7 separate regions of the Homo sapiens genome follow, and regions 2, 3, 4, 5, 6 and 7 are each linked to region 1. The links are contacts of gene promoters, found by promoter capture Hi-C in blood cells and fetal thymus (Javierre and others, 2016). All regions are on one chromosome and are shown on one strand. The core of a region is centred on a gene start or on the middle of the fragment in contact, and the rest is flanking DNA. Distances in the headings are between cores, read along the strand shown.

Region 1 (3,365 bases), core at 515-3,014:
CTGCCACTACCCCTACCCCACTCCCGGGGACACATGAGAAGTCCCTATCTAATTCCCTCCCACCAATCCTTTCCACAGCCCCGTCTCCCTTCCACTACTTCCCACCATATCCCTAACCCTATCTTCCTCCTTTCCCATTAGTAGTCTCAGGATCTCCTTCTGGAAACCTGCCTATTTCTTGACACTGAAGATTTGTCTACTCCCCTCTTCAGCATCCCCGCCATTTCCCTCCCTAAAGCCTTTCCCTTCATACAGATCTCTATTTTTCATCATCCTCCACACCTGCCCCCAAATCCTGGGTCCTGGCCTGCATGCTCTTCATCTCTCCCCAATTCAATCATTCATTTTTCCACTCTTTAAGTAAGCAGAGAGCAGTCCTAGATGCTGGGAATACAACTGTGAACAAACCAAGCAGTCTGTGCCCTCGTGAAGTGCCAGTTTAACAGAAGACAGAAAATAAGTATAAATAAAAAATAAAGAATAATCGCAGAGAGTGGAGAAGCACTCAATGAAAGCAAGAGAAAGATGTGATGGATAGGAACTGGGATGGGGGGAGCACGTTAGGTAGGGTGGTCTGGGAAGGCCTCGCTGAGCTGATAATAAACACAGCTACCACTACTGGCCACCTACTATGTACCTACTGGGTCAGTCACCTTCCATTTCCATTACAATGTTCACGATCCCCATTTGCAAATGGGAATCTGGAGGCTCAGAGAGGTGAAGTAATTTGCCCAAGGTCACACAGCCAGTAAATGGTGGTTTCAGGATTTGAACGCAGGTGTGGCTGCAAAGCCAGCCTCTTAATTTCTGCACTCCTGGTCCCAAGACCCTATCTGCCACCTGTCCTCCCCCAGAGCTGTAGAGTCATTCCCTCCTCAGAGGTCTCTATTTTTCATCATCCTCCCCAATCGCCCCAAAATCCTGGGTCTCAGCGTGCATGCCCCCAGCTTAGACTCCCCTCGGAAAATAATCTGTTCTTTTATAATAATTAATGCCGTTTAATGAGCAATTGTACGTGTTCTGAGCTTAACGTTCATTCTCTTATCCAACCAACTCTCAACACAATAGCAGGAAGCAGGTGCTGTCACTCTACTCTTTTTACAAGTGGGGAACCTGAGGCCTACATTCACACAGATAGATTCGGACCCAGATCTGCCCGACTCCAGGACCCAGGCCTTTGACCCTCTAAGCTGTTCAGTTTAAGAAGTACCCCGCCAGGAAACTTGGTGGACACCGTCAAGAACAAAGTCTGTGTCCATAAACTGAAATCGCATCCTCTCGCTTTACAGGTGGGGATACGGAGACTCTGAGAAATTAAGCGACTTGTCCAAGGTCACACAGCCAAGAGCGACGGGGTCAGGGTTCGAACCCAGGCGCCCTGACTCCCGAGCCCTCGCTCTTAACCACCACACGGGCTTCCCCGGGCGCCCTTCGCCGCCGCTCTCACGCCTCCTAGAGCCCCGACCCGGAGCTCGGCGCCCCGTCCCCCTGTCCAGCCCCGAGGCCTCCCGCTACGCCCCCCACACTCACTTGAGGTGGTCCAAGGAGTGGATGTTGCGGGAAGTCTTGCCATGGCCCCCGCCCACCCAGCTCCGCGAGCGGCCAAACATGTCGGCGGCCCCGACCCGTCTCTCGTCTCACGGTCTCATGCCGGACCAGCAGAGCGGCCCAGCGCCCGCGGCGGTAGCACAAGCGGAGGATGCGGCGGCGGAGGCGGTGGAGGAACCGCGAGCCGCCTTCCTCCCCGGCCCACAGCCCAGCACTGACATTCAGCCGGAACCGGCCGTTCGACCGCCGCGCTTTACGGCCGCCGCCGCGTGGGGCGCTGGGAAATGCAGTTCACCCGCGTGGCCTTCGGCGGCAGGACTCCGCGAACGGACTACAAGGCCCGGCATGCATCGTGCAACCGCGGGCCTACGGCCATCCACAAAAGGCGGGGCGAGAGGAGGAGCGACCGCAGAATCCTCCGGGTGGGCGGGAATTGGAAGCTTTGGGCGCAGTCCCGGAGAGGGAATCGGCGTAGATGGGTCAAGGAAAGTCACCACTGTAGTAACAATTACTAGATTTATAATAAGAATAAGAATAGTATTGGATGGTGTATACTATGCAAAGCCACTATCCTAAGGGCTTTACATATTAAGGTATTTAATTTTCACAACCATCCTATGAATTGGGTACTATTATCGAACCTATTTTATCATCAGGGAAACGGAGTCACTGAGAGGTTGACTTACCCAAGATCATGCAGTTAACAAGTGGCAAAACCAGGGTTCATAACCACGCACGCACCCTTATTTTTCATTCCCTTTATAAACCAAAACGGCACTAGATAACAACCTTATTTGTCCTGACAGCCTTTTTCTTTTTCCACTTCAATTAAGTGTGTGTGTGTGTGTGTGTGTGTGTGTGTGTGTGTGTGTGTGTGTGTGTGTGTGTTGGAAAAGGCTGGATGCAACAATGCACCAAACTGAACATTTTGTACTTCCAGAGGATTCCTCTGGTCTTCAGCCAGAATCCATGCTATTTCCCAAAGTACCACGTTAAAATGAAAAAGGAAACACCCAACTTTCTGCATGAGCCAGAATATATCTAACTTCTACCCTGGATTAGAAGTGGTAAGTTCAGTGTGGGCAAGACTTCTCAAGTTTACCATCCATTCATTCATTCAGTCACTTCTACATATCAACCTTATTAAAGGTCCACTGTGTCCCATTAACTCTGCTCAAGAAAGAACTGGGCCAGAGGCCAATGTTCTCCCCAGTGCCTAGCACAAGGTTTGGCACATAGCAGGTGTTTAACAAATATTGGTAGAGTGCATGAATGAGTAAAGGTTTGTTTCACCTTCAGCAGTTGGAGAAATGGATAAGAGTGGAGAGTTAATGGTTTGTCCTGTAATTCATATAGAGTGGGGCAAGACAAAGTCATGGAGCAAAAAAGAACAGGATCTGGCCTCCAAAGAAACACACCCAGGCTCAGAAATGTAGGATCCCTGGGCTCGTATTTTTCATCTGTAAAAAGTACGCACATACATACTACACTGCCTTGTATACCTCCGATTAAGCGATGCATGTAAAATACTCAGCTCAGTGTGGCCTGAGATTTAAAGGTTTCTTGAACTGCTTTGGAAGGCTCTTTGGGCGAGATCATGTTTTCCTGAAAGACATGCAACGGTTACCCAAGAGCAGGGGAACCAGTGGGTGGGAGAGACTCACTTTTCTGTGTACTTCACGGTTGTTTGAATGTTTAGCCATGTGTATTATTGCTTTTAAACATGATTCACAAAGTAAAAAGAAACAAAAAGCATCCTTATGGTTGAAGATCTGAACTACCTCGGAATCTCTTTATTCAGGTGTTCCTTAACTCTA
Region 2 (3,365 bases), core at 568-3,067, 980 kb before region 1:
AGTGATCCGCCCGCCTCGGCCTCCCGAAGTGCTGGGATTACAGGTGAGAGCCACTGTGCCCGGCCTAATTTTTGTACTTTTAGGAGAGACGGGGTTTCACCATGTTGGCCAGGCTGGTCTCGAACTCCCGACCTCAGGTGATCCCCTCTCCTCAACCTTCCAAAGCGCTGGGATTACAGGCATGAGCCACAGCGCCCAGCTGGCTATTATATCTTTAACACATCTCCAAGCTTTCCTCATCCGCATTTTGAACAGGGAGGGCTTCAGCAGGTAATAGCATCTGGCCTACATGTATTTTGTTTCTTTTGTATATGTTTTGTTTTGGTTTTTGTTTCTGTTTTTTTTTTTTTTTTTTTTTTTTTTTGACACGAAATCTCACTCTGTTACTCAGGCTGGAGCGCTGTGGGGTGATGTCAACTTACTGCAAACTCCATCTCCCAGGTTCAAGCGATTCTCCTGCCTCAGCCTTCCAAGTAGCTGGGATTACAGGCGTGTGCCACCACGCCCAGCTAATTTTTGTATTTTTAGTAGAGACAGGGTTTTGCCATGTTGACCAGGCTGTTCTCGAACTCCTGACCTCAGGTGATCTGCCTGCCTCGGCCTCCCAAAGTGCTGGGCATCAGCCACCGCACCCTGCCTAATGATGCAACTCTTGATGGGCTCCTAGAAGACGACTGGTCACCAGAAAGGCCAAGTCATGATTAGAAGCTTGGAACTTTTAGCCCCACATCCAACCTCTCGGTGGGCAGAGGGGCTGAAGGTTGAGTTAATCAGCAACGGGCAATGATACAATCAGTCATGGCTATGTAGGGAAGCCTCCATAGAAACCCAGAAGGACAGGGTTCAGAGAGCTTCTGGGTTGCTGAACACGTGGAGGACCCTTGAGGATGGCACACCTGGAGACAGAATAGGAACTGTATGCCCCTTCCCAGCCCTGTGCATCTCTTCCACGTGGCTGTTCCTCTGTATCCTTTGTAATGTCCTTTATGGGTAACTGTAAGTAAAGTGTTTCCTTGAGTTCTTTTTTTTGAGACGGAGTCTTGCTCTGTTGCCCAGGCTAGAGTGTGGTGGAGCACTTGGCTCACTACAACCTCTGCCTCCCATGTTCGAGCGATTCTCCTGCCTTCAGCTTCCTGAGTAGCTGGGAATACAGGCACCCACCACCACAACCGGCTAATTTTTGTATTTTTTTGGTAGAGACAGGGTTTCACCATGTTGGCCAGGCTGGTCTCAAACTCCTGACCTCAGGTGATTCGCCTGCCTCGGCCTCCCAAAGTGCTGGGATTACAGGCATGAGCCACCGTGTTTGCCCTGTTTCCTTGAGTTCTGTGAGCCACTCTGGCAAATTCCCTGAACCCATGGAGGGGGTCATGGGAACCCCCAATTCATAGCCAGTTGGTCAGAAGCACAGGTCACAATGTGGAACCTGTTATTGGCATTGGAAGTGGGGGCAGTCTTGTGGGACTGATCCCTTAACTTGTGGGATCTGTCCTAACTCTGGTTAATGTCAGAATTGAGTGAAATGATTGCTTATCCTGTTGGTGTCTGTTGAAGAATTGGTTGGTGGTGGGTAGAAACTCCCTCACTTACTGGTGGAGTACAACTGGCCCTTAAACAATGTGAGCCTGAACTGCGAGGGTCCCACTTACACATGGATTTTTTTTTTCAATCAAATGAGGATCAAAAAGACGGGATTCTCAGGATGCAGGAACTCAAGTGTAGGGAGGGCTGACCTTTCATACACACAGTATAGATTGTGGGATTTTAGTATGGTTGGATTTTTGTATCTGAAGGGCTCCTGGAACTAATCCCCTTCCTCTACCCAGAGAGGACTGTACTCTGTGTTGAGCGGTGACTTGTGTGTGAGAGTAGGAAAAACTCTGATTTTTCCTAAGTTTTCTAAATTATTAGTCCTGGGGTGGGGTGTGGTGGCTCATGCCTGTAATCCTAGCACGTTGGGAGGCTGAGGCAGGAGGATCACTTGAGGTCAGTAGTTCCAGATCAGCCTGGGCAATATGGTGAAACCCTGTCTCTACTAAAAATAGAAAAATTACCAGGGGGTTGGGGAGGGGGGGTGGCGGGCACCTATAATCCCAGCTACTCAGGAGGCTGAGGCAGGAGAATTGCTTGAACTTGGGAGGTAGAGGTTGCAGTGCGTGAAGATTGCTCCACTGCACTCCAGCCTGGGCAACAGAGCAAGACTCCATCTCAAAAAATAAAATTAAATTAAATTAAAATAGCTAAGTGCGGTGGCTCACATCTGTAATCCTAGCACTTTAGGAGCCCAAGGCAGGCAGATCACTTGAGATCAGGAGTTTGAAACCAGCCTGGCCAACAAGGTGAAACCCTGTCTCTACTAAAAAAAAATACAGGCCAGGCGTGGTGGCTCACGCCTGTAATCCCAACAGTTTGGGAGGCCAAGGAGGGCAGATCACAAGGTCAAGAAATTGAGACCATCCTGGCCAACATGGTGAAACCCCGTCTCTGTTAAAAATACAAAAATTAGCTGGGCGTGGTGGTGCACACCTGTAATCCCAGCTACTCAGGAGGCTGAGGTGGGAGAATCGCTTGAACCTGGGAGGTGGAAGTTGCAGTGAGCTGAGATCATACCACTGCACTCTAGCCTGGGCGACAGAGCGAGACTCTGTCTCAAGAGTCTCAAGTTATTTAAAAAATAAATAAATAAATAAAATTATTAGCCCTATGTGTCAGCAGTCTTAAATGAGTATCAAAGGACAGTATCATCCCAGCTAAATTGATTAAGCACCTTTTATACACCGGGCATTACACTAGGCAGTGGAAATGTAAAGAAGATTAAGGTAAGACCCTGCCCTCAAGTCGCACAACTTACACACAACTTAGCACAACTAACAAGAAAGACTTTTCCCTTTTCCGCTGGAGCTCTGTTTGGCAGGTCAAAGCTTTGGAAAACCAATGGAGTGGATTTTTTCCTGAATATCCATAATTATCCTATTCAGAGACAAGGAAATTAATGACATCAACTGCTTTTCTAAGCAGCAGTCTGAGCAGTTTCTGCCTTTGTCCCTAGAAAAAGTACCAGGCAGAAGGAAACTCTGCTAATTCAATTAGATGTGAAGAACTAACCTATGAGAAAGTGATCATTCAGTGCTGTAGGAGTGCTACATGGAGGAGAGTAGTATTCAAAGACAAAATGCTTAGAGAAGGATGTGTAGTTCATTATTTGAGTCAGCTGATTGTGTTGACATTTTCTTAGGGGTGGGTGGGTGGGGAGTGAAAATCTGGAAAGAGAAGGCATTTCATTTAGAACACATTGTATTTTTTCTTGTGAATATAAGATGAAAATCTTTTATTCAATAGCAATACAGGTCTCGCATAAATGAAGT
Region 3 (3,365 bases), core at 426-2,925, 950 kb before region 1:
GCCATCCTCCCACCTTGGACTCCCAGAGGTTTAGGACTACAGGTGTGAGCCACCATGCCCAACCCATTTGCAACTTACAATCCATTGTAAGTTGAGGAGCCATCTGTATTGTAAATCTAATAGTTGGTGCCAGGAACTAAGTGGTCAGGTGTAAGTACTGTTTTGTTTTGAAAAGCTGTTACAGTTAGTGATACACTTGAGAGTGGTGAGGAAGCCCACCACACCCGTCATTTTCCTGCCTTAAGATACGCAGTACATCATAACTGTGTGTCCGTCAGAGCTTAGTTTACTTGTACACTGATTTTCAGCAGGGACTATCTGAGGAAGGGGAAGATGGCACTTGCATAACTTGGAAATGCCTGCAGTTGATTCTGATGTGCCTGTATGTTAGATGGTAGTGATTACAGGATCTGTTTCCTAAGGCTTTTGGTGGGAATGAGCTAGCAGTCGGCACTTAGGGCTCAATAAAAATTAGTTAAAGCAAATTGCTACCCCCTCCATCCCCCACTCCCTACACAATATGGATTTGTGAGTACTTTTATCCTTGTCTGGCCCATAATAGATACTCAATACATATATATATGTATTCATTTTTATTAATTTTTTTTTTTTTGAGACGGAGTTTCATTCTTGTCCAAGCTGGAGTGCAGTGACGTGATCTTGGCTCACTGCAACCTCCACCTCCCGGGTTCAAGCGATTCTCCTGCCTTGGCCTCCCGAGTAGCTGGGATTACAGGTGTATGCCACACCCAGCTAATTGTTTTGTATTTTCAGTAGAGACAGGGTTTTGCCATGTTGGCCGGGTTGGTCTTGAACTCCCGAACTCAAATGATCCCCCCGCTTCCGCCTCCCAAAGTGTTGGGATTACAGGTGTGAGCCACCGTGCCTGGCTGATACTCAATACATATTGATAGGATTGAGTTGGAGTAGTTACATAGCAGATGGAGACACATTTGTTGAATACGCCAGGAGTTCTTTAACTGACACTAAACAAATTATTCTCCCATTTCCTCCCATAAACTCCTCAACAATCCTCTCAGGTAGATGGTATATCATTTCCACAATTTCAGTGGAATAAGTGCAGGCACAGCTTGTAATAAGCCAGGAGTTAAACCTAGGAGTCAGCTCAGTTCCAGGCTCTGAGAAGTACCCCATGCAGTCACCTCCTTCTTAGGGTGGCCTGTGAACTTGATACTCTCAGTACTACCTGGCTTCCTCTGAAAACTGAGTAATTTTTCCTTACCTTATCCTTAAACTTTTCTTGAAAATGGAAAAGCAAAAAAAAGTTAATCTGTATTGTGTTGAAGTACAGTTTCTGCCTCCTTCCAAACCAGGTTCAAATGCGTTTCCCCCCTGTTTGTTAATGTCCTGCTCATCCCACAGCTTGGGGTCATCTTAGACCTTTTACTCTCCCTTTCTCCCAACTCCTGTCAGGTGTAGCCCCCATCCCCTCCTAGTTGTATTGCTTGGTTGTCTCCATGGCATGCTTTCTTGCAGTGGTGATGTGGGTCTTCCTGCCTGTGGGGTCTTGCCCACTCTAGTTCATGTAGTTTAAGCTGCAAGAAAAAGATCTTCCTAAGTGACAGTCTGAGCCTGTCACTTAAAAAAAAAAAGAAAACAATTTGGTTGTCCTTTACCTATCAGGGACAGGAAATTACTTTACTCAACATTTGATGCTATTGAAGGTTGGGCCCAAAACACTTTCTCTTGACTCTTACAGGTATTGATCCTTTCCGGGCAATGATTTTACAGGTTACAAATTCATTATTTTTTCATACTTGCTGTGCATGATTCATATGATTTAATTCTTTAGTATCGTTTTCTGTCGTGGAGATTCTTTAAAGCAGGGGCACGTTCATATTGGAGTATAATTTAGGTTTGTCTGTATCTGACAAACTAAAATCCAAAAAGCAGACTTAGATATTTGGTTATTAGTATGTATTTCTCCTACATCTCTTCCAGTAATGTCATAAGTAAATTTGCAGTGTGGCAACTGGAAACTGGATTGTTGCTTGGTTTTAGAGTTCTAGTATAGGAAAAAACTGGCATCATTGGAATCACCTTTTCTGCAGATATTTTTAATGGCTTATATATGTTTCAGGACTTTATACACATGTCATTTATCTTATAGGTATCTAATTTATTCAGGGATTTTGATAACATGAGTATGGAATATTAAAAAGGGCTAATCACAGGCTGGATGCGGTGGCTCAAGCCTGTAATCCCAGCACTTTGGGAGGCCGAGGTGGGCAGAACACCTGAGGTCGTAGTTCAAAACCAGCCTGACCAACGTGGCGAAACCCCATCTCTACTAAAAATACAAAATTAGCCGGGCATGGTGGCATGCACCTGTGATCCCAGGTACTCAGGAGGCTGAGGCAGGAGAATCGCTTGAACCGGGGAGATGGAGGTTGCGGTAAGCCAAGATCGTGCCATTGCACTCCAACTCCAGCCTGGGCAACAAGAGTGAAACTCAGTCTCAAAAAAAAAAAAAAAAAAAAAGGGCTAATCACAGCTTTCTTGGGCTGGGTTACCTAGAGAGAATCACGGGAAGTAGATGTGTATTTGTTGAGCACATCTCTAATTTGATCTGTGCTGAGCTGCAAATTACTTTGACAGTATCTGTGAAGAAAAGGTTTATAAAGCAAATCAAAAGAATAAGCATGTTTTTATGAATACATTGAAACTACTGAAAATGTTTCAAAATTGGCTGTAATTAGTAGAATTTTGAAAAGTAGGTTAAGCAGAGACTTCTAACTTGAAGGCCTGAGTTAGCTGCCATTGATCTGGGGTTATTGATTGAGGCTTGTGTCGTGTTATTGAACTTCTGTTTTTACTGCATATTAAAAGATAAGTGAAATGGATGGATAAGTATCAATTTTTAATAGAACTTCTTTCTGTTAAACAGCACCTGTGGAATCCTCTCAAGAGGAACAGTCATTGTGTGAAGGTAATGATGTACTCTTTGAAAGTCTACTTGAGAAAACATTAGGTTGTCTATATGGTGTGTAAAGCTAGATACTGTTTGGTAAATATATATTATATTTCAATCTCTTGTCTAGGTTCAAATTCAGCTGTTAGCATGGAACTTTCAGAACCTATTGGTAAGAAAATTTCTGACCATATTAATACAGTAATATGAAACTCTTTCACTCTCAAGATTTAAGGTGCATTATGTAAGTTACGATTATTGTAATGCCTACATTTAAGACACATTGAGTCTTTGCTATTAGTATTTAGAAAGTAGAACAAACTAGGCACTAACACTGCCTTGATAAACTTAATGATTGCAAATAAAATTGAGTGGAGGAATGGTCAAGTCAATTTAAATACCTGTACCTGTTCTGTTTTCTTTTTTTGAGACG
Region 4 (3,365 bases), core at 457-2,956, 930 kb before region 1:
AAACTTTATAGTTCCATTGAAATACAGAATAGTCATTTCACATGTTCATTCCAATTCCATTTAGCAAAAACTACTTTGTATCTACAAAGTGTCAGGAACTGTGCTAAGCCCTGGTGATGAATACAGTTCCTGAACTTTACATTGGATGAAATTGTATAAAGACAGTGTTTATTTTACTTTAAAGGCCCAGAACTCTTCTGGTTGATAGTAAAACTGGTTATTGGGTTTATCTTATTAATATAACAAAATGATAGTTTTAGTTTACCACTCAGAACCTGATAAAATCAGGAAGACAGAAGAAAAGCAATTAATGTAGCAGGAATTCTTAACCCTAGAATTATTTTTTCCTAAAAGCTAACTTGGCTTTAAAAAAAAAAAAAAAAAAAAAAAAAAAAAAGCTAACTTGGCTTTTAGGTTTTCCACAAGACCCAATGGGTTTTGTATCCTTTCAGTCCACAGGATTACTACCAGAAGGACGTGTTCACTGCACTGTAGTCAGTGGTGATTGCTGTGCCTTTTCACAGTTACTTAAGGATAGGTTTTGGGATTTTTTTTTTTAGCAGCTTTATTGAGATACAATTTCCATAATATGAAATTGACCTGTTTTAAGTATGTAATTCAATGAATTTTAGTATGTTTACAGAATTGTACAACCATCACCATATACTAATATTAGAACATTTAGAACACCTAAAAAGAAACCTTACACCTGTTCATAATCACCCCTTATTCCCACCTCCACCCCAGGCAACCATTTTTCAATTTGTCTTTTATAGACACTCCATAAATAGAATTATAAATTATGTGGTCCTTTGTCTAGTTTATTTTACTTAGTGTGATTTTGAGGTTCAACCATGTAACATGTTATTTATTCCTTTGTATCACTGAATAGTACTCCACTGGGTGGATATTCCACAAATACGGATATTCCCTTTTCTTATTTTTAATCCAAAGAGGTTTTTTGGCCCAGTGTGGTGGCTCACCCCTGTAATCCCAGCACTTTGGGAGGCCGAGGCAGGCGGATCACCTGAGGCCAAGAGTTCAAGACCAGCCTGGCCAACATGGTGAAACCCTGCCTCTACTAAAAATATAAAAATTAGAATGGGCATGGTGGCAAGCACCTATACTCCCAGCTACTCAGGAGGCTGAGGCAGGAGAATCACTTGAACCCAGAAGGAGGAGGTTGCAGTCAGCTGAAGTCGCACCACTGCACTCCAGCCTGGGTGACAGAGTAAGACTCTGTCTTTATGCAGTGGCTCATGCCTGTAATCCCAGCACTTTGGGAGGCTGAGGCGGGTGGATCACCTGAGGTCAGGAGTTCAAGACCAGCCTGGCCAACATGGTGAAATCCCGTCTCAACTAAAAATACAAAAATTAGCTGGGCGTGGTGGCAGGCATCTGTATCTCAGCTACTGGGGAGGATGAGGCAGGAGAATTGTTTGGGGGGTACGGGGGGAGATAGGTTTTTGATACAGGGAACCATCTCTTTACCAGCCCCCCCAAATAAGACCCTCTTATTAAGACTACCTAAATAGAAGTATCATGGGTTTGGCAGTAAAGCTAGTTAATTAGTAACTTACATTGTAAAAAATATTTTTGTGATTTAAAATAATAAGTTTTAATATCTTATATAGACTTGCTGTTAACTACTGAAAGATTTTTTTAAAATTTCATTTCTAGGTAAGACCATTGCAATTGGAAAAGTTCTGAAACTGGTTCCAGAGAAAGACTAAGCATTTTCTTGATGACCCTGCACAATACTGTGAGGAAAATTGACTGCAGAAGCCTACTTCACACCGCCTTCTCTTATTTTCTGCCCATTGATAAACCTCTCCCCATATTTTGCAAAGAGGAAATTCACAGCAAAAGTCCACATTATGTCAGCTTTCTCATATTGAGAGCTCTGCTATGCCACTGTTGAATTTTTCCCAAGATTCCTGTCCCTAGCCCTCACTTCAAACTCTGCTTCCTTGGACAGATTTGGCAATAGCTTTGTAAGTGATGTGGACATAATTGCCTACAATAATGAAAACCTACAGGAATTTTTTTATTTTTCATTTTCCCCTTAGGCATATTTAGTATTTTTCCCCCAGGCAGATCATTCTGAGTGTGCGAGTGTGTGTGCACATGTTACAAAGGCAACTACCATGTTAATAAAATATTCAATTTGAAATCCTTTTCGGTATTTGAATTGCTTTTGAATAATGTTTTTTATCTGGATGTAACATTGTTGCATTAGCTTTTTAACTTTCCCAAGTAATTGAATACATTTTATTACTTGGACTTTTATAAACTCTTTCCCTACCCACTATAAATGAGACATTCACAGCGTTCAAGTTTGTATTAAAGGAAAGGATTAGTTTGACCCCTTCTTTTGATGGTTAATGCATACATGCAGTTAAATCCCTTTATGCAAATGTGACACTGCTTTACTAGGTCTTTTAGTTATTTATTTATTTTTTTTTTTTTTGCCAATTTATATTGTAACATGATTTCTTGAACACAGTAAGTTGTTTTAAAATAAAAGAACAGCATACTGTAGTTTTTATAAGTAAAGCGTAATGAAATTGTACCCCTAGAGAAAATTCCATTAACTTGTTAAATTAGTGGAATTAACAACAAATAAAGCATGTTTGAGACCTGGCAAAAATTCCTCTGGTAGTATTTATAAATAGAGCTGCATGCCTCTAGTATGAAAACCGTATCAGTTGCAAGTGCCACTTCTACAAGTTACTCAGTTTACTCTTTGTATCAGTAACTTTAAAGGTTGGATGATCCTTGCTGGTTAAAGCTAAATCTCAACCTAGCAACTAAATGAAAATATTTAGAATCATCAGAATCTGAACAGACTAAAATTATCAGCGATAAGCAGAATCAAGCAGGGTATAAGTTTTATCTCAATTATTTGAAATTGACTGAGTTTTCTTAAGTGTAAAGCTGAAATTTGCTAACCATGTTTTTGATGAACCACAGTGCAGCATTGTGTGGGTTTTAGATTGAATGACTCTCTGCTATAATTATCATGACTTTGAAATTTTTCATGAGAATAAATGAGGAATGGAGGCAATTTGTGGGTTTATCCAAAGCCCCCTTGATGTTGAGTGTTGCCATTGATCAAAGATAGCCTCTTTTAGATTGTGATTTCTCTCTAAATAAGATACTTTGTATATTTAATGACAAGTCTCTTCCCTATAATTTTGCTCCTCAGAAAAGAAAAGCCTAGACAGACTGTATTTCCAGTCACAGAACATAAAACTTAATCTAATGGGTGTTTTGTTTTGTTTTGAGACAGAGGCTCACTCTGTCACCTAGGCTGGAGTGCAGTGGCTCGATCTCAGCTCACTGCAGCCTCCACCTCCCGGATT
Region 5 (3,365 bases), core at 217-2,716, 900 kb before region 1:
AACTGGTACGTGCCTGGAGTCTCAGCTATGCTGGAGGCTATCGTGAGCTATGATCACACCACTGCACTGCAGCCTTGGGTACTGAGCAAAACCCTGTCTCAAAAAAAGGAAAAGAAGAAAGAGTTATTATGTTTATGGAGCTAAGAGTTTTAAAGAAGGTAAAATTCTGAACCAGGCTTGTCCTGATTAAGCTAGGTTTTTATAGCGCATTACAGTACGTGTGCACATACAGCAACATATGTATAATAATTATATATGCAAGCATTTGGAAGTCTTTAAGTATATTTTAATTCTTGTTGTATCCCAAGTGTTAATTGATATTTGGGCCTGTGTGTTTTTGTGATTTACTTGCCATTGAAAGTGAGTTTTGTTTTTTGTTTTTGTGTTTTGAGACGGAGTTTGCCTCTTGTTACCCAGGCTGGAGTCCAGTGGTGCGATCTTGGCTCACTGCAACCTCCACCTTCCGGGTTGAAGCGATTATCCTGCCTCAGACTCTCAAGTAGCTGGGATTACAGGCACCTACCACCGTGCCTGGCTAATTTTTTATAATTTTAGTAGAAACAGGGTTTCACCATGTTGGCCAGGCTGGTCTTGAACTCCTGACCTCAGGTGATCCATCTGCCTTGGCCTCCCTAAAGTGTGGGATTACAGGCTTGAGCCACTACTACCGGCCATGAAATGTATTTTTAAGTGTTGTTCTTGGTGCATTATTTGCTTAACTAGCATGACTAAAAGTTATTTAAATAACACTAAGTTTATCGCGTATTCTGTGTGATACAAACATGCATAATGTGTGTAATAATGCTTTCCTCGGTTTCTTTTCACGTATTTTGTAGGACCTTGCCTCATAGTATTCGATCAGATTCAGAAGATATCTGTTTATTTACGAAGGATGAACCCAATTCAACTCCTGAAAAGACAGAACAGTTTTATAGAAAGCTTTTAAACAAGCATGGAATTAAAACCGTTTCTCAGGTAGGAAGCCTGGTTAATATTTTCAAGTTATTTAGAGGATTTAATTCAGGCGAAATGGTATCACAAATACATTGCTATATTTCCTAGTATTTTTCTTCTACTTTTCTCTTTTTAATTTAATTTGTGGTGGCGTGTACATCAGTAGCTTTTATATCTTGCAAATTATAAAAGAGGTGGCTCGTGTCATTCCTCTGTACTTCCACAGCATCTTGTTTTTCTCTGATTTGCTGTTTTGTAGTTGGTGTACTTGTCTTTATTACCCTCTGGATCTAAGGTATCTAAGTTTTTTTGTTTGTTTGGAGTCTCGCTCTGTCGCCCAGGCTGGAATTCAATGGCAGGACCTCGGCTCACTGCAACCTCCACCTCCCAGGTTCAAGCTATTCTCCCACCTCAGCCTACCGAATAGCTGGGATTACAGGCACCTGCCATCATGCCCGGCTAATTTTTATATTTTTATAGAGACGAGGTTTCACCATGTTGGCCAGGCTGGTCTTGAATTCCTGAGCTCAGGTGATCCACCCACCTCGGCCTCCCAAAGGGCTAGTATTACAGGCGTAAGCACATACAGCAACATATGTATAATAATATATATATGTTGCCCACCTAGATCTAAGTTGCTTTAGCTGGGGTCTTTTCTCATTTGTCTCAGTGTTCCCAGCATGTAGCGTAGTGCCTGGCACATTTTAGGCCCTCAAGTGTTCATTAAAGTATAGAGGCATGGCTCTAGGACATTTTTAAATCCAAATCCAAATTGTTGCCTAAGTATTTCTTCTCCTTGTTTAGATTCCTAACTTCTTGTTTTTATTCTTCTCTATACTTCCTAGATTATCTCCCTCCAAACTCTAAAGAAGGAATATAAATCCTATGAAGCCAAGCTCCGCCTTCTGAGCAGTTTTGATTTCTTCCTTACTGATGCCAGAATTAGGCGGCTCTTACCCTCACTCATTGGGAGACATTTCTATCAAAGAAAGAAGTAAGTTTCTTAGTAATGACTGGACTTTAGCAGCATGAAGCTTCTAGGTGTGTATGCATTGTGTTCTGAATGCCTGTGTGTTTATTTTGTAGAGTTCCAGTATCTGTAAACCTTCTGTCCAAGAATTTATCAAGAGAGATCAATGACTGTATAGGTGGAACAGTCTTAAACATTTCTAAAAGTGGTTCTTGCAGGTAGGTAAAAGGCATTCATGTGTGCCTCTTTTAATCTTGTATTTGACAATGATTTTATATATACTTATTCGTTTTGTTTTGTTTTTTGTTTTTGTTTTTTTTTTTTGAGATGGAGTCTTACTCTGTCTGCCAGGCTGGAGTGCAGTGGCACCATCTCGACTCACTGCAAGCTCCGCCTCCTGGGTTCACGCCATTCTCCTGCCTCAGCCTCCCGAGTAGCTGGGACTACAGGCGCCTGCCACCACGCCCGGCTAATTTCTTTTTGTATTTTTAGTAGAGACAGGGTTTCACCGAGTTAGCCAGGATGATCTCGATCTCCTGACCTCATGATCCGCCCGCCTTGGCCTCCCAAAGTGCTGGGATTACAGGCGTGAGCCACTGCACCTGGCCTTTTTAAAAAGATTTTGTTAATGGCTCCAGATCCTTTTTTAAAACTAAAATCTATTCCTCAGAAGTGATCAATTCTCGGGTCAGGTGCAGTGGCTTATGCCTGTAATCCCAGCACTTTGGGAGGCCTAGGCAGGAGGATCGCTTGAGCCCAGGAGTGCAAGACCAGCTTGGGCAACATAATGAGACCCTCTCCCCCAGCCAATTACAGAAAAATCAAGAACATTAGTCAGGTGTGGTGGTGCATCCCTGTGCTCCCAGCTACACAGGAGGCTGTGGCAGGAGGATCACTTGAGCCTAGAAGGTCAAGACTGCAGTGAGCCATGTTCTTGTCACTGTTCTCCAGTCTGAATGACAGAGCAAGACTGTCTTTAAATGAAAAAAAAAAAAAGTTCAGTTCTCTAGAACAATGTTGTCTGATAGCACTTTCTACTGTGATGGAAATGGCCTGCATCTGTGCTGTCTCATACAGTAGGCACTATTTGTATGTAGCTATTGAGCACTTGAAATGTGGCTACTGTGTTAGAAGCTGAATTTTTAGTTAATTTAAAATAGGCACATGTGGCTAGTGGCTGATGGTCACTGCATTGGACGGGGCAGCTCCAGATACTAAGAAAAGCAAGGAGAGTAAGATGAATGCTTGGAGAACATGACTAGTTCTAGGCTTTGAGCTTGTCCTTTATCGTGCCACTGCACTCAGTGGTGCAGTCACAGTTCACTGCAACCTCCAACTCCTTGGCTCAAGCAATCCTTCCACCTCAGCCTCCTGAGTAGCTGGGACTACAGACACACATCACCATACCTGGCTAATTTTTCAATGTTTTGTAGCGGCGGGG
Region 6 (3,365 bases), core at 419-2,918, 880 kb before region 1:
GATTGAATAGTAGATGTTCTCAGGTTTTCACTCCGTAAATGACTTTTGCCAGTGCATTAAGAAAAACAATTGATTTGGAAGTTGGCTATTAATCCAATTAATTAGAAGCCAAGCCTTTTTCCACAGGGCCTGTGATGTGTTGATAAAATGCCACACAACCATTTCTCAGTGAAAAGCCCAACCGGGACTTGAGTTATGTTGGTGGCTATGGAGTTCTGCAATCCACAATTGATGTTCTCTAATAACCAGTGACCTTGAGTGAACTGTCCCCAAGGCAAGAGCAACCACAGCTGCGGGGAGCGTTTGGCAATCACTATCCCCACCCAAGCTTCTCCCTTGGTAAACTTTGTACCTACTGGGTCCTCATGCTGGTGGAAAAGAAAATACATTTCCTTCTCGTGACTGTCCCCTCTCCTTCAAGTCAATGTTCTTAATCTTTGACCTTGGATTTCATCACTTGTCACTTGTTTTTGTTTGCTTCTTCGGGATTTTTTTTTTTTTGAGATAGAGTCTTGCCATGTTGCCCAGGCTGGAGTGCAGTGGTGTGATCTCAGCTCACTGCAACCTCTGCCTCTGGGGTTCAAGAGATTGTCCTGCCTCAAGCCTTCTGAGTAGCTGCAACTACAGATGTGGGCCATCATGCCTGGCTAATTTTTGTTTTTGTTGTTGTTGTTGTTTGTTTTTTTGAGATGGAGTCTCACTCTGTCACCCAGGCTGGAGTGCAATGGCGTGATCTTGGCTCACTGCAACCTCCGCTTCCTGGGTTCAAGTGATTTTGCTGCCTCCGCCTCCTGAGTAGCTGGGATTACAGGTGTGCGCCACCACACCCAGCTAATTTTTATATTTTTAGTAGCGACGGGGTTTCACTATGTTGGCCAGGCTGGTCTCAAACTCCTGACCTCAAGTAATCTGCCCGCCTCAGCCTCCCAAAGGGCTGAGATGACAGGCGTGAGCCAATGCACCTGGCCTAATTTTTGTATTTTTAGTAGAGAATGGATTTCACCATGTTGGCCAAGCTGGTCTCAAACTCCTGACCTCAAGTGATCCTCCTGCCTCGGCCTCCCAAAGTGCTGGGGTTGCAAGCATGAGTCACTATGCCTGGCCTTGAATTTCATCACTTGTACCTAAAGTATAAAAACATAGATTTACCATCAAATAGTAATGGTGCTTCAGGAAGAAGTTAAGCCTACTTCAAGTACCTTTGGCCTTGTACTTCAGTTTCTTCTTCTTCTTCTGTTTTTGAGACAGAGTTTTGCTCTTGTTGCCCAAGCTGGAGTACAATGGTGCAATCTTGGCTCACCACAACCTCTGCCTCCCGGGTTCAAGCGATTCTCCTGCCTCAGCCTCCCAAGTAGCTGGGATTACAGGCATGTGCCGCCACGCCCAGCTAATTTTGTATTTTTAGTAGAAATGGGGTTTCTCAATGTTGGTCAGGCTGGTCTTGAACTCCCGACCTCAGGTGATCCACCTGTCTTGGCCTCCCAAAGTGCTGGGATTACAGGCATGAGCCACTGCACCCAGCCATTTTCTTCTTTTTATTATTTTTATTTTTTTTTTGAGACGAAGTCTCATTCTTGTCACCCAGGCTGGAGTGCAATGGTGCGATCTTGGCTCACTGCAATCTCTGCCTCCCGGGTTGAAGTGATTCTCCTGCCTCAGCCTCCTGAGTAGCTGGGATTACAGGCTTCTGCTACCACACCCAGCTAATTTTAGTATTTTTTGTAGAGACAGGGTTTCATCACGTTGGCCAGACTGGTCTGGAACCCCTGACCTCAGGGAATCCACTTGCCTTGGCCTCCCAAAGTGCTGGGATTACAGGCATGAGCCACTGTGCCCAGCCTTCTTTTTTTAGAATTGAGATGGGGCCTTTCTATCTCCCAGGCTGGAGTGCAGTGGCACAATCAAGGCTTACTGAAGCCTCAGCTCCCAGGGTATCTGGTACTACAGGCACGTGCCACCATGCGTGGCTAATTTTTTGTATTTTATTTAATTTATTTATTTATTTTTTGTAGAGACAGGGTTTTGCCACGTTCCCCAGGCTAGTCTTGAACTCCTGGGCTCAAGCGATCCACCTGCCTCGGCCTCCCAAGCGTGAGGATTCATTTTCAGAAGCAGTCTTTTTGGATGTCTTGAGATAGCTTCATGAAATTTCACTTGTAAACCAGAAGTCTCAGAAGGTCTCAATCACTGTAGAGGTTTATTTTAGCTAACATTGAGGACATGCCCAGGAAATAGACAGAAGCCACAAGAGGATCTGGAGTCAGCACTTTTTCCAAAGAGGATTTAAAGGGCTTCAATATTTAAAGGGAAAAAGTGGGCAGGAGGGGAGAGGTGAAAAGAAAAAATGGAGAAGGATAGGGTAGCATTGTAATGAGGCTTTCAGCACTCACTCAATCCACGTGTTGCATGTGAAAAGGAAAGAGAGGAAGAACAATCAAGTCTTTCTCTTGAACTTGGGCAATCTGTACTTGACCTGTAGATAAACATAGAAATCAAATATGCGGCCGGGTGCAGTGGCTCACGCCTGTAATCCCAGCACTTTGGGAGGCCGAGGCGGGTGGATCACGAGGTCAGGAGATCGAGACAATCCAGGCCAACGTGGTGAAACCTGTCTCTACTAAAAATACAAAAAATTCGCCAGACGGGGTGGCAGGCGCCTGTAATCCCAGCTACTTGGGAGGCTGAGCCAGGAGAAATGCTTGAACCCGGGAGGCAGAGGTCGCGGTGAGCCGAGATTGCACCATTGCACTCCGGCCTGGGCAAAAAGAGCGAAACTCCGTCTCAAAAAAAAAAAAAAAAAAAATCAAATACGCATGGGTCTCAGCGTGGGTGGGTCAGCAATTTATAGTCTCTTCTTGTCTCCTACCTATGAAGATAAGCTATTAATTTACATTGTCAGGGTAAGAAAGTCCCCGTTGTGAGGCGTGTGGCCTTCTATCTTATAGCTATCTGTTTAGGAACAAAACGAAAGGCAGATTTTGTTGTGTGTGACTCGATTTCCAAGCTTAACTTTTCCCCTAGGCATAGTGAGTTTGGGGCTGAGATTTTGTTTTCTTTTCACACTGTAAAGATGTATCTTTTTATTTCCTTTTTTAAAAAATTTGAAACAGGGTCTTGTCCTGTCACTCTGGCTGGAATACAATGGCGTAATCATAGCTCACTGCGGCCTCCATCTCCTGGGTTCAAGTGATTCTCCTGCTTCAGCTTCCCAAGTATCTGGGACTACAGGCATGTACTACCAGAACTGGATAAATTTTTTATTTTTATTTTTTATTATTATTTTTTTTGAGACGGAATATCGCTCTGTCGCCCAGGCTGGAGTGCAGTGGTGCAATCTCGGCTCACTGCAAGCTCCGTCTCCCAGG
Region 7 (3,365 bases), core at 615-3,114, 800 kb before region 1:
GTGATGAGATTTGCACGTGGGTCACATAGCTGACCTGTGGCAGAGGTGGCGTCTCAGCTACTGGCCGTTAGCTGTGCCTTCTGTTTGTGGCATAACACCATATTGCCTTAATGCCCTCGAAGTTTTATTTGTCTAGTTTGTTGTTATTGACATTGGAGGACAAGTCCTTTTTTTTTTTTTGAGACAAGAGTCTCTCTCTCTCTCTCCCCCAGACGGGAGTGCAGTGGCGCCATCTCCACTCACTGCAACCTCCGCCTCCAGGGTTCAAGCAATTCTCTGCCTCAGCCTCCCAAGCAGCTAGGATTACAGGCGCCCGCCACCACGCCCGGCTAATATATTTGTATTTTTAGTAGAGACGAGGTTTCACCATGTTGGCCAGGCTGGTCTTGAACGCCTGGTCTCATGTAATCTGCCCGCCTTGGCCTCCCAACGTGCTGGGATTACAGGCTTGAGCCACCGCGCCCGGCCGTGTTTTTTTTTTCTTCAGTTAAGTTGGGATAAAAAACGGCACCTACGTGCTTCGGGGCCTGTAGTGAGAATGGTGGACACGATTATTGTCGTTACGGCTCCTAAAACCCAGCGCGGCGAGAGCAGACTACAGCGGTGTCAAGGTTCCAAGTATTCCCCGCGGGCCTTATCCCAAGGGAGCAGCTTCTCCACGCCCCGCGACGGCGCCTGCGCAGACTCCGTGAGCGGGGTCGTGACCGGTGGGGCCAAGACTGGGCTGCGGGCGGGGAAGGCTTCCGTGCATTTACGTAGGGTGCAGGGCGTGGCCCGTTGGGGGCGGGGATTTGGGCGGTGTCGGTGCCCGCCCGGACTCCGTGAGCGGTGGGCGGAGCTGCGTGCTCTGGGGTGTGAGGTGGGGCGGACCCCGCGGCGGCGGCGCGGCTGACGTGGAGCGTCCGGGTTAGCGGGTGCGGCGAGCTGCGGGATTGGGGAGCAACGGGCCGGGCCGGGCCTTCGGGCCCGAGGCGGCGGCGGCGGTATAAAGCCGGCGACTGGGAGCATGTAATGTCGGAATGCGGAGGCCGCGGCGGCGGCAGCAGCAGCAGCGAGGACGCCGAGGACGAGGGAGGGGGCGGCGGCGGCCCCGCGGGCTCAGACTGCCTCAGCTCGAGCCCGACCCTGGCCACAGCGTCCTCGGCGGGCCGGCTCCGTCGCGGGCTGCGTGGCGCCTTCCTCATGGCGCGCCAGCGGCCGGAGCTGCTCTGCGGGGCCGTGGCGCTCGGCTGCGCGCTGCTCCTCGCCCTCAAGTTCACCTGCAGGTGAGGCGGCCCGGACCCTGGGGCCCCGCTAGGGCGCTCCCCTTGCTCTGCCGCCTGGAGCCTGCAGGGCCGGGTCGCAGCGGCCTCAGCCGGGGAAGTCGGGCCTGACCTTGCCCAGGACGGCTGACCCCTCCCGGAACCTGCGGCCACGGCTTCCCACCTTCTCCTCGCCCCGGCCCGCCCGCGGACATTATGGCGAGGCTTCCGGGTGGAGCCCTGCGCCCTATCGTCCCGCTTTAGTGCCGAGGGAGGCGGGTCGGGGGTGCTCCTCACCTGTTGGAGTCACTAGGGGTGGACCTGTCACTTCGGCCCGGGCTGTAGGACCCTCATTTCTCACCGATTTCATTCCCCTTAAGCTTCAGGTGTAGTGATCCACAACCTTGCGAGAGTTCCAGACCCCTTTTAGAATTCCCGCACTCATTGATCTAACGATTATTTTTATTTTGAGACGGAGTCACGCATTGTGTCCCAGGCAGGAGTGCAGTGGCGCGATCTCGGCTCACTGAAACCTCCGCCTCCCGGGTTCAAGGGGTTCTTCTGCCTCAGCTCCTGAGTAGCTCGGATTACAGGCGCGCGCCACCACGCCTGGCTAATTTTTGTATTTTTAGTAGAGACAGAGTTTCACCACGTTGGCCAGGCTGGTCTCGAACTCCTGACCTCACGTGATCCACCCGTCTCGGCCTCCCAAAGTGCTGGGATTACAGGCGAGAGCCCCGCACCCGGCCTGATCTAACGATTATTTATCTGCACCTACTATGTGCCGGACGCTCGTCCGGGTGAACTTTTTGCTCCCTTGAGTGGATGGGACAGTGAACAAGTAAATATAATTTTTTAAAGCTTCAGTGCTATGCAGGGCATAGAAACGATGGCGGTGGGGAAAGACTTCCTAAGGAAGTGACATTTGAAGCTTATACAAAAAGGAGAAGGGACCAGCGCTGGGAAGATCCCGGGGGAGCGTGTCCACGGTAGAGCGAACAGCAAATGCAGAGTTTCTGAGGCTGGGCAAGCTTGGTGTTTCCCTGGAATTGATAAAAAGGCCTGACAGTAGGCTGGGGTGTAGGGGGTAGGAACATGAAAGTTCATGTGTGTCTTTTCAGGAATGTACACACATACAAAATTTGCTGTATATTTCAGGTGTACTTCTGGTCTCCCAAATCCACAGTGGGTCTTTTGGGATTCCAGTTTATAAGATCTGTATTGCTACTATGATATCTGTGATTTCACCTCGGAACATTTTTGAGTTTATTTAGCACGATATGTGGCCAGTTGTCAAAGAGGTGTCAAAAGATCGGGGATTTTAGTGGAAAGATAAATTATAATAACTCTCAGTGAGCATTTTCCATAGGCCAGGTACTGTCAGCAGGGTTTCTCCGTCTTGGCACTGTTGATATTTTGGGTCAGATAATTCTGTGTTGTGGGGGCTGCCCTGACTACTGTAGGATGTCTAGCAGCATCCCCGGCCTCTACCCACTAGATACCAGTAGCACACCCCACAAGATGTAACAACTACAATGGCTTCAGACATTGTTAGATGTCCCCTGGGAGCAAAATTGCCTGCTTGGGAACCACTGTTTCCATGAAGCATTTATTCATTTAGTACATAATTGAGAGCCTAGTATGGGTGTCATTTAAATCTTACAATCCCCATTAAAGTTTGAATATACTGTTATCTTTCCCAGTGCACAGATGAAGGAGTCCAGCCTTCGTGATGTTTCAGAACCTGCTCCAAATCACACCTACGTGATAAGGGGCTGAGCTGGAATTTGAATCCTTTATTGTCAGGACCTCCTAGATTCTTAACCTTGTACTTTATTCTTGTCTCCCACAAGGACAGTATACAAAGTATTTTACAAGGTAGAGTGTTGCGAGGTGACATTTAGGTTCAAATTAGGAAGAGAGGTTTCCCCCTCCAGGGGTGAAGTTTATTTACATCGGTTTGTTAAAGTCTAGAAATAATGGTTAATGTTTGTTCTGAGACAGCATGGCTTAATTGATACAGAAGTCCTTTGAGATTGAAAAGGAAGGAAGAGAGTAAATCCAGTTACTAGAGTAGGCAGAATGAGATCCTTTCTTGCTTCAGGCAAGGAGAATGAACCAGTA

Evidence for each region. The method cuts DNA at HindIII sites, captures the fragments that hold promoters and counts their contacts. A CHiCAGO score of 5 or more calls a contact.
Region 2: a fragment that was not itself captured here is called in contact with the fragment with the promoter of CLEC16A in region 1 in 1 of 17 cell types (neutrophils); the score reaches 5.3 in neutrophils.
Region 3: a contact is called between a fragment that was not itself captured here and the fragment with the promoter of CLEC16A in region 1, in 3 of 17 cell types (naive CD4 T cells, naive CD8 T cells and neutrophils). The highest score is 6.9, in naive CD4 T cells.
Region 4: a contact is called between a fragment that was not itself captured here and the fragment with the promoter of CLEC16A in region 1, in 2 of 17 cell types (naive CD4 T cells and total CD4 T cells). The highest score is 6.0, in naive CD4 T cells.
Region 5: a fragment that was not itself captured here is called in contact with the fragment with the promoter of CLEC16A in region 1 in 9 of 17 cell types (naive CD4 T cells, naive CD8 T cells, activated CD4 T cells and 6 more); the score reaches 11.0 in naive CD4 T cells.
Region 6: a fragment that was not itself captured here is called in contact with the fragment with the promoter of CLEC16A in region 1 in 4 of 17 cell types (naive CD8 T cells, activated CD4 T cells, naive CD4 T cells and 1 more); the score reaches 6.9 in naive CD8 T cells.
Region 7: a contact is called between a fragment that was not itself captured here and the fragment with the promoter of CLEC16A in region 1, in 4 of 17 cell types (total CD8 T cells, fetal thymus, naive CD8 T cells and 1 more). The highest score is 8.1, in total CD8 T cells.

The regions. Positions count from the first base shown.
Region 1 is chr16:10,942,963-10,946,327 of GRCh38, reverse strand. CLEC16A (C-type lectin domain containing 16A) reads right to left here and starts at 1,764. Exons shown (of 24, transcript NM_015226.3): 1 at 1,531-1,764. The coding sequence starts at 1,610. It also overlaps a transcript of CIITA not described here. RefSeq lists enhancers at 1,692-1,751, 1,972-2,151. The HindIII fragment of the contact is 6,288 bases long and covers 1-1,990 here.
Region 2 is chr16:11,918,417-11,921,781 of GRCh38, reverse strand. No RefSeq gene overlaps it. Among named protein-coding and RNA genes, the nearest start is that of GSPT1, 4.1 kb to the right of the region's middle. The HindIII fragment of the contact is 2,213 bases long and covers 711-2,923 here.
Region 3 is chr16:11,897,579-11,900,943 of GRCh38, reverse strand. GSPT1 (G1 to S phase transition 1) reads left to right here. Exons shown (of 15, transcript NM_002094.4): 2 at 2,909-2,950; 3 at 3,063-3,104. Among named protein-coding and RNA genes, the nearest start is that of GSPT1, 17 kb to the left of the region's middle. The HindIII fragment of the contact is 4,482 bases long and covers 1-3,365 here.
Region 4 is chr16:11,871,487-11,874,851 of GRCh38, reverse strand. It overlaps GSPT1 (G1 to S phase transition 1), which reads left to right. Exons shown (of 15, transcript NM_002094.4): 15 at 1,681-3,365. The coding sequence ends at 1,733. Among named protein-coding and RNA genes, the nearest start is that of RSL1D1, 22 kb to the right of the region's middle. The HindIII fragment of the contact is 9,746 bases long and covers 1-3,365 here.
Region 5 is chr16:11,845,278-11,848,642 of GRCh38, reverse strand. It overlaps RSL1D1 (ribosomal L1 domain containing 1), which reads left to right. Exons shown (of 9, transcript NM_015659.3): 3 at 837-975; 4 at 1,800-1,948; 5 at 2,041-2,142. Among named protein-coding and RNA genes, the nearest start is that of RSL1D1, 4.6 kb to the left of the region's middle. The HindIII fragment of the contact is 1,049 bases long and covers 942-1,990 here.
Region 6 is chr16:11,821,501-11,824,865 of GRCh38, reverse strand. It overlaps BCAR4 (breast cancer anti-estrogen resistance 4), which reads left to right. Exons shown (of 3, transcript NR_131222.1): 2 at 3,111-3,228. Among named protein-coding and RNA genes, the nearest start is that of BCAR4, 5.6 kb to the left of the region's middle. RefSeq lists enhancers at 2,218-2,718, 2,719-3,219. The HindIII fragment of the contact is 2,676 bases long and covers 331-3,006 here.
Region 7 is chr16:11,740,377-11,743,741 of GRCh38, reverse strand. It overlaps TXNDC11 (thioredoxin domain containing 11), which reads left to right and starts at 885. Exons shown (of 12, transcript NM_015914.7): 1 at 885-1,265. The coding sequence starts at 1,012. TXNDC11-AS1 (TXNDC11 antisense RNA 1) reads right to left here and starts at 728. Exons shown (of 1, transcript NR_186412.1): 1 at 1-728. RefSeq lists silencers at 383-905, 768-1,437. The HindIII fragment of the contact is 481 bases long and covers 1,624-2,104 here.